Regions from separate parts of the Homo sapiens genome. Here region 2 is linked to region 1. The links are contacts of gene promoters, found by promoter capture Hi-C in blood cells and fetal thymus (Javierre and others, 2016). All regions are on one chromosome and are shown on one strand. The core of a region is centred on a gene start or on the middle of the fragment in contact, and the rest is flanking DNA. Distances in the headings are between cores, read along the strand shown. Region 1 holds the start of NEGR1 (neuronal growth regulator 1). Region 2 overlaps LOC105378797 (a long non-coding RNA gene).

Evidence for each region. Contacts are between HindIII fragments. The CHiCAGO score rates a contact against its expected background, and 5 or more counts as called.
Region 2: a contact is called between a fragment that was not itself captured here and the fragment with the promoter of NEGR1 in region 1, in 1 of 17 cell types (monocytes). The highest score is 6.3, in monocytes.

The regions. Positions count from the first base shown.
Region 1 is chr1:72,280,694-72,283,959 of GRCh38, reverse strand. It overlaps NEGR1 (neuronal growth regulator 1), which reads left to right and starts at 1,421. Exons shown (of 7, transcript NM_173808.3): 1 at 1,421-1,641. The coding sequence starts at 1,466. LOC105378797 (a long non-coding RNA gene) reads right to left here and starts at 1,026. Exons shown (of 6, transcript XR_947506.3): 1 at 555-1,026. RefSeq lists silencers at 985-1,074, 1,175-1,234. The HindIII fragment of the contact is 3,164 bases long and covers 1-2,956 here.
Region 2 is chr1:72,635,144-72,638,219 of GRCh38, reverse strand. The region is part of intron 3 of LOC105378797 (a long non-coding RNA gene); the gene reads right to left. Among named protein-coding and RNA genes, the nearest start is that of LINC02796, 130 kb to the left of the region's middle. The HindIII fragment of the contact is 2,449 bases long and covers 569-3,017 here.

The sequences.
Region 1 (3,266 bases), core at 172-2,671:
AAGAAATACAACCCTGCGACTCGTTAAACCCCTTAACTCTGCCCTGCCTTGACTCGGATGCGCCGATTATTCGGCCTGATAGGCTCAAATGGGTTAAACTGCCTCTTACATAACTGGACCGCCTGGGCTCTACACAATTAAAACACTTGATTGCAGTCTTTTCCCGACTCTACATCCCAGCATGACCCGCCCCGTCCCTCCCAGCGCGCCTGCGTGCCGCGCGTGCACAGGCCCCCGCGCGCACGACACGCTCTCTATCACACACACACTCCATGTTGACCATAAACAATCCCCTACTCACACACACAACTTAGTGTCAACACCCACAGATAAAAGAGGGGCGTCCTGCAATCCATACGGGCCGACCGCCACAAACACGCAAGCTGCTCTGCCGCAAGGCCTTGCACCTCCTCGTGTCCCCGCAAAAAAGCAGCGCCCCGCCACCGTCCCTACCTATTCCCGAGAAAACGCAGAGAGAACTAGTTGGCTGCTCGCTAACTGCAGCGTAGCCACCCAGGCAAGATTAGAAGAAAATAAACAAAAAAACAACTCACAGTCGCCGGCGTCATGATGGCGCCGACCACAACTTGGAGGACTTCAAACTTACGGTGCCTCGAGAGGTAAAACGCACCGGTGAGGGAAGGCAAAGCGCCCCTCAGCTCTCTTCACCCCAGCCCTGACACGGAGACTTTTCTAGCAAAGAATCCCTCTAGCGCTTACGACAGTAAGGAGAGCCTTCATTCTAAGGTGCCTCTCTTTCCCCCTTAGTTTGCATAATTGTGATACAGTTCCTCCTATTTTTTTTTTCGTTGTCTTGCTTTTCTTTTTTTTTTCTTGCTATCTTTTTTCTTTCTTTTTTTATTATTTTTTTAATCCCCCTCCCTTCTCCATCCCCAGTCCCCTGGCGGGGTTGCTAAGGAAACGGCCGCTTGGCAACGCGCGCGAGCCCGGGAGCCGGCGGCCGGCGCAGCGCTCCGCGCTGCTTCTGCTGCTGCTGTTGCTGTTGCTGCTGCTGCTGCTGGGATTGCAGCCGCCGCCGCCGCCGCTCGCCCTGCCTCCTCCCCCGCCGCCGCGCCTCCTCCCTCACTCGCCGGCGCGCTCGCCTCCTCGCTAGATGGTGTGCGAGCCGCCCGAGAATTAGACACACTCCGGACGCGGCCAAAAGCAACCGAGAGGAGGTGTAGTGTGGTGCCAGGGGGAGGGAGGGGAGGGAGGGAGGGAAAGCGAAGAGGAGGAGGGGAGGCAAAAACACCGAAAAACAAAAAGAGAGAAACAACACCCAACAACTGGGGTGGGGGGAAGAAAGAAAGAAAAGAAACCCACCCACCCACCAAAAAAAAAAAAAAAAAAAAAAAAAAAAAAAAATCCTGTGGCGCGCCGCCTGGTTCCCGGGAAGACTCGCCAGCACCAGGGGGTGGGGGAGTGCGAGCTGAAAGCTGCTGGAGAGTGAGCAGCCCTAGCAGGGATGGACATGATGCTGTTGGTGCAGGGTGCTTGTTGCTCGAACCAGTGGCTGGCGGCGGTGCTCCTCAGCCTGTGCTGCCTGCTACCCTCCTGCCTCCCGGCTGGACAGAGTGTGGACTTCCCCTGGGCGGCCGTGGACAACATGATGGTCAGAAAAGGGGACACGGCGGTGCTTAGGTAGGAAGAACGGCGTGCTTTTCGTACTTGTTTCGGTCTATCTTTCTGTCTCTCTTTGAACCCTCTTTGCCTTCTTTATAACACAAGCAATAATGCTGGTGGTGCTCATCATGGAAAGACCACATCCCAAGAATTCCAGGTGCAGATTCTTCCCGGAGCCCCGGCCCGTTTATGCTGGGGCAGGTAGCAAGCTGGACTCGTGATGCTAAAGCACTTTGCCGGAACGCCAAGTAGCCTGGGGATGAGTGAACTGTCAGGTTTAGAAGGAGGGGCAGGTGCCACTTTGAAACTCAATGCACAAGGTCTCTGTTTTACTGTCATGGGGTACTCCTGGAGAGTCTGACAAGTTTATCAGGTTTGTTTCTATTTTACTCCAGCATAAGCGACTCTTTCAAACTGCTGTTCTCTGCTCCCATTTATTTTCCCTCTCACTTGGACACTTAGGCTCGATTTCTTGCTCTTTATCTTTCTTTCCTTTTACCGCTTTCTGTTTTCTTTCTTTTCTCCTTCCTCATTCTCTTATACCATTTTCCCCACCTCCTTGTAACTCTTTTTCCCTCCAATATCTCTTTTCATACCTTTTCTATTTTCTGTTTTTTCCCTCCTTTTTAAAATTTCTTCTCATATTTTCTCATTTTTATCTCCACGACTCTAATTTCTGTTCCTCACATTTAATCCCCTTTCCTCCTCTCTTTTACCCTTTTTTCTTTTTGTCTATTTTTTTTATTCCTCCTTAATGTCCCTATCCTGTGCCCTGTCTTCCCTCTTTTGACTCCCATTTCTCATCCCTCTCCCCATACCGTTTCCCACCCCTGTGGCACACACAGGCATGGTCACTGTTCCCCTCCAGTACCATTTACTCACCCTCATAAATCTTATTTCCATAAACATACTAACTCACATACTCTCACATCCTCACATGCACTGGCACTTCCATGCTGTAAGAACCACTTCCACATTCAGATTGTCTCTCACTGTTTTTAAAAGGCATACTCTCCTTCTCTGTTCCACATTGTCACTCACACATGTGTACACACTGCCTGTCTCACTCGCTGCTCTCACTCTGTCTCTGCTTCTCTCTTTTTCTCTTTCTGTGTCTTTCTATCCCCTTTTTATTCCTACCTTCCTCCCTCCATCAGTCTTCACTTTTACTTATTTTTCTCATTTTCCCTTCTTTCCTCTGAGCTTGAGCTCTGAGGTGGTTTGTCATTAATAAACATCCATACCCTGATTTTACCCCTAAGCAACACTGCAGAGTGGGAGTCTGGGAATATTTTATTTCCTATGAAAATATAAATGGATGATCAGCAAAGCTTAGATCTAAACAAAGCTAAACGCCCTATTCCTTCATTTCTTTCCCATCACCCTCCCTTCTCCCCCTGCCACCCCACCTCACATTTCCCTGAAAGATCTTCTTTTTCTCCACTGGGTGGTAGTTGGCTTGTAAGTCTGGCTTGCACAACATCAGTGTACATGACATGTCTAAGGTGAAAGAGAGTGGGAAATGTTTCTGTTTGAAACATGCAACATATTTAAATTTAATGATGTGGGTGTGGTATATGACTTACACCTTTTGGAACATGCCTATGAGTTCAAATTTGGAATACTATCGTATTTTTTAATAT
Region 2 (3,076 bases), core at 544-3,043, 350 kb before region 1:
CTCCACTTAGCAAAGTACTTGGATTAAGCTGTCTTTCAAACAATAGTGTCTTTCTCATTAGGTTACTGAGTATCAGTGTTACCTGTTTACAAAACAATGCAATGCACAATTTGATTTGAAGTCTACCTTACCTTAATTTAGAATAAAAACACACTTTTCCTCCTATTCATTTACATCTTCAAGTTAGTCTTTGGTGTTGTTGTTGTTTAATAAGGATTTTTTTAGAGGCCTAAAAGGAAATGCTTTCCATTTTAGAAAAATGCCTGGAGTTGCCTGGCTGCATGTGTGATAAAGCACTATATAAATCTAAGTTGTTGTTGTTGTTAATGGGATCTGTTCTCACAAAACATCATTGTATGAGTGGCTTTTATGCTGAGGCTGCCTACAGGAGGGAGGGAAGTGGAGATTTTACTCCTGCTTTAAAAGGAAATAATCAGTCTGCAGGTGGCTGCATAGTGGGATAAGCAAATGGACTAAGTGTAGCACATGGTTTTCCGCACAGAATAACACCAAACAAGAATGAACCAGATAAAGATCTTTTGTACAAGCAGTGTTCTAAAGAAAAGCTTTGAGCTCCTAACTCCTCATGTTTATGCAGGAAAATCATGGTATGCTTAAAATTAGATTTTTCTCCACAGGAACTTCTTACTATAATGTAGAACTGAAGCAGTATATAATTTTAACACTTCTATGCCTCCAAATCATCTTAACCAATTCTGAATCAGTGTTAGGATGTTATCGGCCAAAATGAATCCATGGTCTTTGATCTGCACTGTCTACCCTAAAATCAGAGTCAATTCTTTTTTTTTTTCCCCAAAGAATTTGTCCAAGGTTCAGAGATAATATATACTTTCATTTAGCTCTAAATAGGAAATGAGTTCTTAAAAGAAGAAAGTAGGCTTAAAGCAGTGTTGAATTATTCCAAAGAAATGCATTATTTCAGGTTTTTCATAACCTTTTATTCAGCTCAACATTATTGTGCAGTTGAAAATATTTGGCTCACCCCATGGAATTTGGAAAATATGTTGCTTCAAGTCTGTAGTACAATGAAATCAGGATAATTTCAACTCAGTCTGATTATCAAAGGTAAGTACTTTCTTGAAAAACACTGCCAGATACCACAGCTTGCTGAGGGAAAAATGAGAGATGCCAAAATTCATTTCAAAATACCCCATGCATGTGTTTAGAAAAGAGTTTTAGCAACAACAAAGGTGTTCACTATTATAAGATGTTCAGCCGCTTACCTCTAGCTTCAGAGAGTCTATTCCCTGTTCTTGTCACCTAACTCTAATGTTGGGAGGCAGCTGAGTGGCCTCCAGGATAACCATATTGCAGGACAAAAGAAAGGAGATGAGATGGAAGAGTTCCAGCTTCAGCCCTGCGGAGCCTGTGAGCTGGTGCCAAAGATAACAGAGTAGCATCAAAGGCTGTATGGGACAGCTGTACTGGCAGGGAGCTACAAAGGCAAAAGAGAGAGAGAAAGGCAGGAGAGAGAGACAGAGAGAGAGAGAGACAAACAGAGAAAGACAAAGACAGAAACAGAGAGACATTGAGACAGAGACAGAAAGATACAGAGAGGAAGATCTTAAAATATGTATATTTTAGTATTATGAGTTCTAAAGGATGCGGGAGAAATGGGATGAAGAGATGAAAGACAACAGGAAAATAGAGAAGATGGATAGAGGAAGAAAGGAGGGAAAGTAAAGAGAACAAAGGAGGAAGAGAGAGAGAAGTAAAAACAAAGAAGGGAGGGAGGGTGAGAACCCTGTGGCATAGCGACAGAAAGCAAGGCTGCTGGACTAATTTAAAGGTCTAAGAACAACGAAATGATCATTAGGAAGCTGGTCATATATTTAGGTTCCTTCTCAAACAACTGGGAGGACAACAATCAGTTCTTTTGTCAGAATTTCCTTCAGGGTTTTTTTGTTAAATATGTCAACCACCAAAACCACAATTGCAAAAATAAAAGAGAATCCCGTGCTGAAAATAAATCACTTCTAACTTCGTTAGGGAGTTTAACAGTAGGTTAGGGAAATGAGGGAGGTGGTGTGTGTGTGTATGTGTGTGTGTGTGTGTGTGTGTGTGCGCGCGCGCGCGCGCGCGCGTGCGCTGCAAGTTGCTGACAATATATTATGGAAACGATAAATTATGAAAGATTAGGCTAGCTAATGAAAAACTAACAAGTAGAATATTTGATCTACAGCAGAGATTCTCAACCAGGGGCATTTTTTCTCTCTCCAGAGACATTTGGCAATGTCTGGAGACATTTTGATTGTCATGACCGCAGAGTGCAACTGGCAGTTAGTGGACACAGGCCAAGGATATTGCTAAACATCCTACAATGCAGAGGATAGCACAACAAAGAATTACACAGCCCAAAATGTCAATAGGACAGAGGAGGTTGGGAAACCTTGATGTACAGTTAGAGAGACATATGTTTAGATTTGGATTAAACACTTTGCTAGTTGTGTGACCCTGGACAAGTTATTTCAGTTCTTTGTGTCTCAGTTTCTTCATTGATAAAATGGAGATAACATTATTTCTTCAGCGTGGTGTCAACCTTATCCCTGTGTCTGGCACTAGACTGGTATGCCACAGCTATTATTATTTTTTCCTTCTTTCCATAATCTAAGTGTGGGATGAAGTAAAATAAAATAATAGCAATTAATGGATAAAATATGCCCCAACTTCTTTTTTCTAGTATGTATGAGAAGGTTAGAAACAATGCCAGTTTTCATAGTACATAAAGATGTCATAAATTCTTGCCAAAACAAACAAGTAAATAATAGAAAGGAAGCTCTATGAAATTTAAATGGGGGGCCTTTTCTTAACTGAATATGTTAATAAAATATAACATTTTTATGGCTTTAACATTTATACTCTTGTATTCGATGCCTTTTCTCTTCACCTAAACCCTAGGCTGTGTTCTCATCTACAGGCACAGTTTCTCTTTTCCATGATGTATCACACATGTAATTGCCCTGTTTAGGACTGTAATTCCTGCTGTGCTGTAAGCTTGTGGAAATAAACTGAGACTACCCAAAAGAGAATGAGCAAATGCTATTTATTCACTACT